Linked DNA regions of Homo sapiens: regions 2 and 3 are each linked to region 1. Evidence: promoter capture Hi-C in 16 types of primary human blood cells and fetal thymus (Javierre and others, 2016). All regions are on one chromosome and are shown on one strand. Each heading gives the region's core, a stretch centred on a gene start or on the middle of the fragment in contact. The rest is flanking DNA. Distances are from core to core; before and after follow the strand shown.

Region 1 (3,886 bases), core at 984-3,483:
ATCTTCCTTGGATCCAGTTTGAGTGGCTGATTCATCCGTTAGAAAATAAATCCCTCATGCCCATTTACAGTTAATTTCCATTCCCATCCCCAACCTCAGGGGAACATTATTTTACCTTCTGTCTCTATAGGTTTACCTTTGCAGGACATTTCATATAAATGGAATTATACATTATGTGTTTTTTTCATGTCTGGCTTCTTTCACTTTGCATAGTGTTTTTGAAGTTCATCCACATTGTAGCATGTAGTCGCATTTTATTCTTTTTTTTGCTGAATAGTGTTCAATTGTATGGTTATATCATATTTTATTTATTCACCAGTTGATAGACATTTAGGTAGTTTCTACTTTTTGCCTATTATGAATAATGCTGCTGTGAACATTCTGTGGGCAAGTTTGTTCTATTGGGTACATACCCAGGAATGGAATTGTTGAGTTGTATGGTAAATTTATATTTAATTCTTTCAGAGGGCTGTACTTATTTTTTATTCCCTTTTAAAAACAGCTTTATTGAGATACAATTTGCATATCATAGAATTCATCTGTTTTAAGTATGCAATTCAATGAATTTTAGTATATTTATCGAGTTGTATAGACATCACCATCACCACAATCTAATTTTAGAACATTTCTATCACTCTAAAAAGAAATTTTGTGTCCACTTGTGGTGTTTTGGGTCTGGCTTCTTTTACCAGGCATGTGTAAGATTCATTCACATTGTACAATATATTAGCACTCCACTCCTTTTTATTGTCAAATACTATTTCATTGTATGGATATGCCATATTTTGTTTATCCGCTCAGTGGTTAATGGACATTTGGGTTGTTTCCACTTTTTGTCTCTTGTGAACAATACTGCTATGGACATTTATGTACAAGTTTTTGTGTGGATGTGTGTTTTCATTTCTCTTGCATAGGTACCTAGGAGTGAAACTGTTGTATTATATAGTAAGTATATATTTAACCTTGTAAGAAACTGCTAAACTGTTTTCCAAACTGGCTGTACTATTTATTTGTTTATCTTTATTTTTTATTTTTTTTGAGATGGAGTCTCGCTCTGTCACCAAGCTGGAGTGCAGTGGCGTGATCTCAGCTCACTGCAACCTCCTCCTCTCAGGTTCAAGCAATTCTCCTGCCTCAGACTCCTGAGTAGCTGGGACTACAGGCGTGTGCCACCATGCCCAGCTAATTTTTGTATTTTTAGTAGAGAGGGGGTTTTGCCATGTTTGCCAGGATGATCTCGATCTCTTGACCTCGTGATCCACCTGCCTCGGCCTCTCAAAGTCCTGGGCTACAGGCATGAGCCACTGCACCTGGTCTGGCTGCACTATTTATGAGGGTTCCAGTTTCTCCCTATTCTCACCAACATTTGTTATTGTCTGTCTTTTTTATTGTAGCCATTCTAGTGGAGGTAAAGTATATTTCATGTGTGATTTTTGTTTGTTTGTTTTTTGAGATGAGGTCTCACTCTGTTGCCCAGGCTGGAGTGTAGTGGCATGATCATGGCTCACTTCAGGCCCCACCACCCAGGTTCAAGTGATTCTCTGCCTCAGCCTCCCTAGTAGCTGGAACTACAGGCATGCCATCACACCCAGCTAATTTTAAAAATATTTGTAGAGGTGGGGTCTTGCTATGTTGCCCAGGCTGATCTCAAACTCCTGGGCTCAAGTGATCCTCCCAATTTGGCCTCCCAAAGTGCTGAGATTATAGGCATGAGCCACCATGACTGGATCTCATGTGGTTTTAATTTGTATTTCCTTAATGACTAATGACACTGAACATCTTTAAATGTGCTTATTAGCCATTTGTATATCTATTTTGGTCAAATGTTTTGCCCATGTTTTAATTGGGTTGTTTGTTTTCTTATTGTATTGTAAGGATTCTTTACGTATTATGGGGGTATTATCGGATACATGATTTACAATTGTTTTCTCCCAGTCCGAGGCTAATCTTTTCCTTTTCTTAATGGCATCTGTTGAAAGATTTTTGAGGAAAAAAAGGACAAAATACAGCCATGCTTCAGAAAGATAGGCAGGCAGCAGTACGTGGGATGGATCAAAAGGGACAGAGAACTCTTTTTGAAAGTTGTAATAAAAGGAACAGGCACAGGCCAAGTTTTAAAAAATTCTCCAGGAATCAAAGGGTTATAAGCAGCTATTTATTGAAGCCTGTTTACAGTCCAGTTAACCAGTAAACCAGAATCAGTGAAACTACCCATCTGGGGAAGTGCAAAAAACCTTTCAAAAGGCTTTCCTGGATTAGAGAAAGAAAGGGAGTGAGGGAGGAGAGATGAGTGGCTATTCCAGAACGACATAAAGAATTTCCAGCCTTGGACGGACAGCTGGGAACGTCTTCCAATTTGGACTGGTGTTTACAAGCGGGAAGCTAGGTGGACCTTGGATTTTGGCGGGTGAAGAGGCTAGGTTGTTTAAGGAGGTGGGGCGCGTTTCAGTGGCTCTCTTTGAAAAAGCCCAGCAAGATGTCAGACCTGCTCTCAGTCTTCCTCCACCTCCTCCTTCTCTTCAAGTTGGTTGCCCCGGTGACCTTTCGCCACCACCGCTATGATGATCTTGTGCGGACGCTGTACAAGGTGCAAAACGAATGCCCCGGCATCACGCGGGTCTACAGCATTGGGCGCAGCGTGGAGGGGAGACACCTCTACGTGCTGGAGTTCAGCGACCACCCTGGAATCCACGAGCCCTGTAAGTTCTGAACAGCTCTTGAGGGTGTGTGGGGCAGGGCCTTTCCCTTGCAAATCCAGTAATTGGAGTGGTTTCTGGGGTGGTCCGTGGACGCCTCCGCCTACAAGGTATTATCTCTTTCTCAGCCTGTGCTATTTCCCTCTTAGCCCTCAAACTGCCACTGCCTCTGGGGAGCTATAACCCTCCTTCAGCCTTCAGATCTTTCCTCCTTTTTGGGTTCTGTTTGCTCAAAACTTTAATGGTAAAAGATGAGTCTTCTTCCCTGCTCATGTCCCATATCCCTTCATTTCCCCCATTTCCTTTCTTTTCCCCTTACTATTGTTCTGTCTTTCCCCACCCAATGGCTCAGGAGACATAGGCAAAAACAATGAGCCCTTCTAGTTCTGCCAGGAAACTTAGAAGGGTATAGGGGAATCTCTTCGGGGAGTGACAGTGTGGTATTCCAGAGAGAGTTTGGGGACTTGGGTGTCAGTTTTATTTACTGGATTCTTTTTTATTTTTTATTTTTTTGAGACGGGGTCTGGCTCTGTTGCCCAGGCTGGAATGCAGTGGCATGATCTCAGCTCACTGCAGCCTCCACCTCCTGGGCTCAGGTGATCCTTTCCCCTCAGCCTCCTAGGTAGCTGGGACCACAGGCATGCACCAATACGCCCGGCTAATTTTTGTATTTTTAGTAGAGACAGGGTTTCATCATGTTAACCAGGCTAATCTCAAACTCCTGGGCTCAGGCGATCCACCCACCTTGGCCTCCCAGTGTTGGGATTACAGGCGTGAGCCACCGCACTTAGCCTGGATTCCTTTTTTTAGTTTGTTTCTACTGTAAAAGCAATCCATGTTTGGATTAAAATTTAGAGATTAGATAAGGAAAAAAAATAATAAAACTCACCCCAAATCCCACCACTGTTAATGTATTGATGTATATCCTTCCAGACTTTTTTCTATGCATATTTAAACCCTGACTCAAACACATGTAATTGTTTCTATAAAAATGAAATTGTATTATAACTGCCCTTCTCATTTCACAATCTGTTATGGATAGCATCCATGTCTATAAGTGCAGATCTACATCACTGTGGTTTTGGCTGTGTAATAGCTCATTGCATGACTATGTTTAACTGTCCATATATTGATGGACATTTAAGTTGTTTCTAATTTCTCACTTCTTTCCTTACCAGTTCCTCCTTCAA
Region 2 (4,204 bases), core at 513-3,012, 220 kb after region 1:
TTACTGAATCAAAGTCTATTTTAACAAGATCCTCAGGTGACTTGTGTGCACATTAAAGTTTGAGAAGCACCTGTTTAGACAACTTTTTAAAGTAGGACTTTTTGCTGTCAGAAAAGCAGAATTTACAAAAACCAAGGAAGGAGAGGGTGTCAGATGTTTCAGACACTCTAGAAGGAAATGTCAAAGAAAATTCTTAAATCCAGCTTGCTGGCTTACCTCCTGATTTTTCTCCCCTTCTGTCTGGAAATAGCTCTTCAGTTGTGCTTTCATCCACGAGTCCCACGACAGGGACTGATGGTGGGAACCTATCGTGTAAACATAGATATGGGGCCTCCCCTCTGATTATTGTGTATAGATATCTCTTCCTCTCAGGAACAGATCCAATGAGATGTGAGAATCCAGTGAGATGATGTCCACAAACTTTCATGAAATGTGAGCTCCAGAGGAGCTCAGTTTCAATAAGGATTGAATTTTGTGTCACCCCATTTTAGTTAATTGTGAAGCTTGGATTCTGTTGATGAGGGTGTTAGTTCAGGGTCAGGAGTACAAACGGGCCTTAACAGTTGTGCTCTGAACTGTGTTTCATTTGCAGAACCTTATGCTTGAGGACCGAGAAACCTCCAGCTTTAAATACTTCATGCTAAATCCCCTCTCTGGTCGCCACATAACTCACGGGGCATTAAACTCTCCCGCCTGGTGGTACATGATACTGCTGAAGTCTTCACGGTTTTACCTTTGCCATGTGTAGCAGATCACCCAGTGCTTCAGAGCAGGGGCAGTGGACTCCGATCTGTCTGAGCCCCTGGCTTATGTCCCACAGCCTCTGCTAGAACTTTGCTGCAATTGTTGGTGCAGGTCAGCATTAGTATTTTACATATGTCAAGAAAGGAGTTTTCCACAAGTTGCAGATTTTGCAAGCTACATAGGGATACCTACGCCTTAACACTCAAGAGATGACCCTCAAGCAGAGAGGGGCAGAATTAGTGCCTTCCCAGCGATAGGCTGTGGGGTGGTGGTGGAAGGGAGCAAGCCTCTGGTTAGAGTCTCGGCAATGTATTCATTCTGGAAACATTTCTGGGGAGCAGTCAGGTGGGTGAGACCCTGCAGCCACCCTGACAGGTCCTTAGACGGAGCAGGACCACGGCACACAGCAATGCCTGTGAACCACCACACCTCGGCATCTCACCAAGCATTTCTCACAGCAACCACCCCAGAGGTCCAGAATTAGGAAAGCTGAGGGTGAGAAATTCTCAATCTGCTGTCGTCAAAAACAGGACTCACTTTGACAAGAGCCCTCACTACAGCCTTCAGTTGAGACCAAGAAAATACCCGCAACTCTGTTCAAACTGAATAAGATTTTTGCAATTTGATAGAAGGGATGCCAGGCACGAGTATTGCAACCAACTTTTAGCTGGGCTTAAAAGGCAGCATGACCCTCTACATACTCAAACTACAGTGGGATTTAATGAAGAAGATCCATGAATTGTCATTAAACTGACTTTAGCTGAAGAACTGTGGCAGTTTTATCACAGCTACCTGGGCTTACTTTTATTAGTTTCCTATTGCTGGAACAAGTTACCACAAATTTAGTGGCTGAAAACAAATTTATCTCAGCATTCTGGAGGTCAGAATTCAAAATTAGTCTCACCGGGCTAAAGTCAAGGTGTTGGCAGGGCTGGTTCCTCATGGATGCTCCAGGGGAGAATTCATTTCCTTACCTTTTCCGATTCCTAAGGTCTGCATATCCTGGCTTGCGGCCACTCCCTCCATCTTCAAAGCCAGCAGCGTGGCACCTTCAACTGTCTCACTCCGTCCGTCATCGCAGCACGCTCTCACTCCGACTGTCCTGCCTCTTTTATAAGAACGCTGTGTTTACATTGAGCCCACCTGGCCAATCCACGGTGCTCTCCCCATCTGAAGACCCTTAACTTAATCACATCAGTGAAAGTCCTTTTTTCCAGGGAAGGTGGCATATTCACAGGCTTTGAGGATTAGGATGTGGACATTTTTGAGGACCATTATTCTATCACAGGTGTGAAGCCACATGACATTTTAAAGGCAAATAGTTTTGTTTTGTTTTTTTTTTGAGACAGATTTTGCTCTTGTTGCCCAGGCTGGAGCGCAATGGCACAATCTCAGCTCACGGCAACCTCCGCCTCCCGGGTTCAAGTGATTCTCCTGCCTCAGCCTCCCGAGTAGCTGGAGTTACAGGCATGCACCACCATGCCCGACTAATTTTTTGTATTTTTAGTAGAGGCGGGGTTTCTCCATGTTGGTCAGGCTGATCTTGAACTCCTGACCTCAGGTGATCCGCCCACCTCAGCCTCCCAAAGTGCTGGGATTACAGGCGTCAGCCACCGCGCCCGGCCAGCAAATAGTCTTTTTGAGCATGGAATCGTGACCCAGTCCAGGCTACATTGGTGGCTCTAGAGCAGTGGTCAGCAAACCTGTTCTTAAAGGGCCAGATAGTAAATATTTTAGGCTTTGTGGGCCAATTCCTCAACTCTGTATTGTAACATGAAAGCAGGCACAGATGGCAAAGAAACAAAGGAGCATGGATGTGTTCCAGTAAAACTTTATGTGCAAAAACAGGTAGCAGGGCAAATTTGGCCCTAGAGCCATACCCCTACTCTAGGTCCAACTAAAATAAAAGAATTCTGTTCAACCATTAACATTGGAGTCAAGTTTGCAGAGAAATTAGACTGTTGGATTAAGGACAATGAAAAGCTGGCCAAAGAGTAATTGGTTTACAGATTGGACCTAATAATTGTGTCAACCAGGCAAATATTTATTATACCAGAAGCTACCTTTATATTACCAGAATGCAAACCCTGACAAACCAGACCACAGGTGTCCGCAGATGAGCACTAAAAAAGAAGCAGCCAGGCAAAGCTATTGTTTAGCACCAGGTATCAAGAGCAATACCTGTGACCAGAGCTAATAGTACAACCAGTGCTATCCACAATCTTCTGACAACCAAGTTGTTTCCCAGAGAAGAACGAGTGTCTATAGCAAGCTTGTCCAGCCCATGGCCTGTGGGCCGCATGTGGCCCATGGCTTTCAATGTGGCCCACCACAAATTTGTAAACTTTCTTAAAACATAATCAGATTTTTTTTGCGATTTTTTTTTTTTTAGCTTATCAGCTATCATTAGTGTTAGTGTATTTTATATGTGGCCCAAGACAATTCTTCTTCCAGTGTGGCCCAGGGAGGCCAAAAGATTGGACAACCCTGGTCTCCAGGCTTGAGCAGCAAGTAATTGTCCCAAAGATGGCTGCCAAGGAACAGGGCAGATGGATCCGAAATCCGTGATAGTGTTTGTCAGGCATAATCGCCAGATGGAAATCAAGTGAGAATCAAGAGGATTAATCAAGAGATTACCAATATGGTGACCAAGGCCTTGATTGTTAGAATTGAAGAAGGAGCTCTATTGTAGTTCATTTTCAAAATTCAGTAAGAACCAAACTAGCCTAGTTTTTCTTCTCTTCCTGAAACTCTATTTTTATGTTCATTTACCTTAAAGAAACACTGCCATACATATATTCCCAGTCTGGTCTTGAACTCCTGAGCTCAAATGATCCTCCTGCCTAGCCTCCCAAAGTGTTGGGATTACAGGTGTGAGCCACTGCACCTGGCCATTTTCTCCTTTTTTCTACTTTTTCCATAAATAGTTGCTTTTTATATTGTAACAGTTAAATTCTACAGCATAACTAACTACTTGCATATGAAATTAAAAGGAGGGCTATGACAATGGAGTGCTTTTTACAGCCAATTGTTTTATGCATTTTTACAATCTTTTACTTATGATGTTTTCTTTTTTTTTTTTTTGGAGACAGAGTCCCACTCTGTCACCCAGGCTGGAATGGAGTGGTGTGATCTCAGCTCACTGCAACCTCGACTTCCTGGGCTCAAGCGATCCTTCCACTTCAGCCTCCTGAGTAGCTGGGACTACAGGCATGCACTACTACACCTGGCTAACTTTCTGTATTTTTTTTTATTTATTTATAGAAACGGGGTCTTACTTTGTTGCTCAGGCTGGTCTCGAACTCCTGCGCTCAAGCATTCCGGCCTGCCTAGGCCTCCCAAAGTGCTGGGATTGCAGGTGTGAGTCACTGTGCCTGGCCTACTTATGGTATTTTCGAACAATATGAAACCTTTCAAAAAACCAGTCTAGTGTCTAGTCCATGTGGAAGACCAAACTCAG
Region 3 (3,927 bases), core at 998-3,497, 250 kb after region 1:
TGGGAAGTGAGGAGCCCCTCTGCCCGGCCACCACCCCGTCTGGGAGGTGTGCCCAACAGCTCATTGAGAACGGGCCAGGATGACAATGGCGGCATTGTGGAATAGAAAGGCGGGAAAGGTGGGGAAAAGATTGAGAAATCGGATGGTTGCCGTGTCTGTGTAGAAAGAAGTAGACATGGGAGACTTTTCATTTTGTTCTGCACTAAGAAAAATTCCTCTGCCTTGGGATCCTGTTGATCTGTGACCTTACCCCCAACCCTGTGCTCTCTGAAACATGTGCTGTGTCCACTCAGGGTTAAATGGATTAAGGGCAGTGCAAGATGTGCTTTGTTAAACAGATGCTTGAAGGCAGCATGCTCGTTAAGAGTCATCACCAATCCCTAATCTCAAGTAATCAGGGACACAAACACTGCGGAAGGCCGCGGGGTCCTCTGCCTAGGAAAACCAGAGACCTTTGTTCACTTGTTTATCTGCTGACCTTCCCTCCACTATTGTCCCATGACCCTGCCAAATCCCCCTCTGTGAGAAACACCCAAGAATTATCAATAAAAAAATAAATTTAAAAAAAAAAAAAAAAAGAAAAAAAAGAATGGACTTTCCCAGGCCAGCTGTGGTGGCTCACGACTGTAATCCCAGCACTGTGGCAGGCCAAGGTGGGCAGATCACCTGAGATCAGGAGTTCAAGACCAGCCTGACCAACACGGAGAAACCCCGTCTCTACTAAAAATAAAAAAAATTAGCTGGGCGTGGTGGTGCATGCCTGTAATCCCAGCTACTTGGGAGGCTGAGGCAGGAGAATTGCTTGAACCCAGGAGGCAGAGGTTGTTGTGAGCTGAGATTGCACCATTGCACTCCAGCCTGGGCAACAAGAGGGAAACTCCATCAAAAAAAAAAAAAAAAAGGACTTTCTCAAAGAAAATGTATTTAAATGTCTGCACCAATAATTCCAGCATGTGTATGAATAAATATGATATGTCCTTTACAGTGAAGGTCTAATAAGATTTACTTATATGCCTTTTCCTTCTTAGAAAGTCTCTAAGAAATAAAATATCTTTACAATCAAACTCCTGACCTGTCCACATTCCAAATAATGCTGAGCATCTTTAGCGCCTCAAGACACTTTGGAAGCCACTCAAGAATTTTTCTTCCTGAAAAAGATCTTCCTCTTTCCAGGACATACTGCTTGCCAGGGCTTAAGGATACTGGAGAATAATGCTCACCCTGTTCACAAGACGGAAGCTTCCCTTTCTGTCATCAATGGTCTTACCTAAAAATTCCCAACTCTCCTCTCTCCAACCTCCACTGCCTTCACTACCCAGAAAGAGTGTCATGACTATGGAGAATCTCACATCCGTTCTCAGAAAAGTAAACAGAGGATGTTCAGTTCACCCAGCACTTATTTGGTACTGGGTTACAAAATGCTCACAAATGTCATTTGACTTCCACCATGAGACAGGTGGAACCCTGTGAGATAGGGTGTGTTCTGGCCATTACAAAAACAAAGAAATGGAGATTCTCCTTAGAGAAGTCAAGGCAATTCACCCAGCTTGGTAAACGGCAGAGCTGTCATGGGGACCCAGTCTCTGACTCCAAAGCTCATGCTTTCTTCTCTCCACTTACATAGCATGACAGTGTGTGTGGCCAGAGTGAATTTCACACCACTAGCCATGCCTGCCCTCCCACCGCTAATATCAAACATATAGAACCCCAAAGTACACACATGGGTAAATACCCAGGGGAAGCCTCACCTGTTGGAGGTGATCCAGGAAAAGACACATTTCTGGTTGGTGTCAATCCTCACCTCATTGTGTTTCAGAAATCGCTGCTGGTGCTCAAAGGCACGGATAACTGGCAAACCTGATACGGTCTCGCTGAAGTGAGAGTAGATTGGGGACCTGGTGACAGAGTCCAGACGCCTCAGCTGGCGGGAGGTAGACACATAAAACATCTGGACACAAAAAGTAAAGAATCAGCCAGTCCCGCAGTCATGAGGCATCCACCATCTTCCTCCTTTCTGGCCACAACCCAGCATTCTTCCCCTTGATGGGCACAGCTTACGTCTGAACAAGACAAAAGCCTGCAGTGCCATGTCTGGGAGCAGAATGATGAGAGGCTCCGAGGAGGAGACCAATGAGAAGACTGGGGTTGGTGGGGAACAGAGTGGGGTGAACGTGAGGAGAGCACACTGCAGCCTCAGAGCTTTGAGTCTCCAAACCTCCTAAGGAGTTCCGTCAGCCTAACCCATATCCCCCAGATCTACGGCTATCATCCATGTGACAGTTTCTGTACTCATTAGAGAAAAGGTCCCCAAAAGGATTTTGTAAAGGCAGTGGGGCCCGTGGGGTGTGTAAAGTGGGGATGGGCAGGAAATGGCCAGAAAAAGGCATGCCTAGGTTTGGGTAAAAAGGGAAGAATCTGTTCAATTAAGTGACCAAAACTGTGCCTCGGTGGTGTGTGAAGGTACAGAGAATTCTGGAGGTATGCAGAGTGCTGAGGGGGTAAGAACTGGAACAGGGTAGAATCCAATGCAGGGAAGAACCCTGTGGCCTGAGGGCAAGGGGGAGTGGAATGGGTCCGTGCTGCTACTAGATTCTGTGAGGATTTGTTGAAACCTGGGAAGAGTGGGGCGTTGGAGAGACGGGATGCAAAATGTTATACATGGACATACAGATGTTCCCTCCAATAACCCTGCTTCTTGTTTGTTGGCTTGTTATTAATAGTTAAAAGGCCGCTATGGTGACAATGTGCCTGAGGAACTGTACACGGACATGGGGGCGAGCCGCCAATCGCAGGCCACAAGGCCACGAGCCCCTGATCAGTGTCTTCAGAATTGTTTCCCCAGGCAAACAATTCACCACAAAAGCAGCTGGTGGGACCAGAGTTCCTCCACAGCCTCCCCTTCCCTCATCCATTTTATTGTGGGAATAGGGTTCCTTCCACTCGTTCCAGTTTCCCTGTTTTGCTTTCAAGCTGCACATTCCCTCGAAGAATACACTGGAATTGAGCCTAAACCACCCACAGACACCCCAGTGAAACTAGAACTTTGCCGAAGTAAAAAGAAAGACCCAGCTGCTGCTGAGAGACATCTCCAAGCAGCTATGCCTGTCCAAAGTCAACCAAGGAAGCACCATAGCATGGCTCTTCTGGAACCGACCTAATCGTCATGGGGGTTCTTATGGAGCTGCAAGACTGTGTCCAGAGCCAATCTCAAAGTAGTCTTGGATCCAAACGTAAATCTGTCCGACCTAAGCTTCCAGGGAGTGAAGGGTGGGCAGCAGTTAGGGTGACATTTGCCATAAATGGTGCACCCATTGATGCTCTCACTTCAGCTTCAGACAGTGGCCTGTGGGCTCCTGGGTATGTCAACATATGACTAAATGGCAAAGCTGCTGAGGGGAGGAGTGAGTGACTAGCAATGAATCAGAGAGAAGATTCTCAGGAAAGAGGCTGGGCTTTTATAGATAGAGAGGAAGGAAGGATGACTTAGCCATTTCCAAACCTACCTGAACAGATACATAAATAATGCCAAGAGGAATGACGATGATGGTGAAGACAGGAGTGGCCATGCAGATCATGACAAGGGTGCTGATTATCCCCAGGAAGCATGTAATCCAGCTGCGCAAGGACTGAGGCAGGGTGTCATCCACTGTGGAAATATCCTAGGAAAACGATTAGGAGAGATACACCATCACTGAGGTCTTCCTAAGATAGTTTACATCTTCCTAGTTCTAGCAAGGAATCTGTTGGATTCTGTGTGTTCCCAGTACTCCTTCATGTAATCATTTCATTGTGTTCATTTGCAATAGGCTGCATTGCTTGCCCCAATAACCAATTTCATTTCCATAATTTCTTCATTTAGGCCTGGCGTGGTGGTCACACCTGTAATCCCAGCACTTTGCAAGGCCGAGGCGGGTGGATCACCTGAGA

What was found. Contacts are between HindIII fragments. The CHiCAGO score rates a contact against its expected background, and 5 or more counts as called.
Region 2: a fragment that was not itself captured here is called in contact with the fragment with the promoter of CPN1 in region 1 in 2 of 17 cell types (endothelial precursors and M1 macrophages); the score reaches 8.3 in endothelial precursors.
Region 3: a contact is called between a fragment that was not itself captured here and the fragment with the promoter of CPN1 in region 1, in 9 of 17 cell types (total B cells, M0 macrophages, erythroblasts and 6 more). The highest score is 7.2, in total B cells.

The regions. Positions count from the first base shown.
Region 1 is chr10:100,080,216-100,084,101 of GRCh38, reverse strand. It overlaps CPN1 (carboxypeptidase N subunit 1), which reads left to right and starts at 2,233. Exons shown (of 9, transcript NM_001308.3): 1 at 2,233-2,699. The coding sequence starts at 2,477. The HindIII fragment of the contact is 7,883 bases long and covers 1-3,886 here.
Region 2 is chr10:99,855,587-99,859,790 of GRCh38, reverse strand. No RefSeq gene overlaps it. Among named protein-coding and RNA genes, the nearest start is that of DNMBP-AS1, 70 kb to the left of the region's middle. The HindIII fragment of the contact is 2,513 bases long and covers 506-3,018 here.
Region 3 is chr10:99,834,112-99,838,038 of GRCh38, reverse strand. It overlaps ABCC2 (ATP binding cassette subfamily C member 2), which reads right to left. Exons shown (of 32, transcript NM_000392.5): 24 at 3,504-3,659; 25 at 1,749-1,948. Among named protein-coding and RNA genes, the nearest start is that of ABCC2, 53 kb to the right of the region's middle. RefSeq lists an enhancer at 2,873-3,927. The HindIII fragment of the contact is 2,011 bases long and covers 1,242-3,252 here.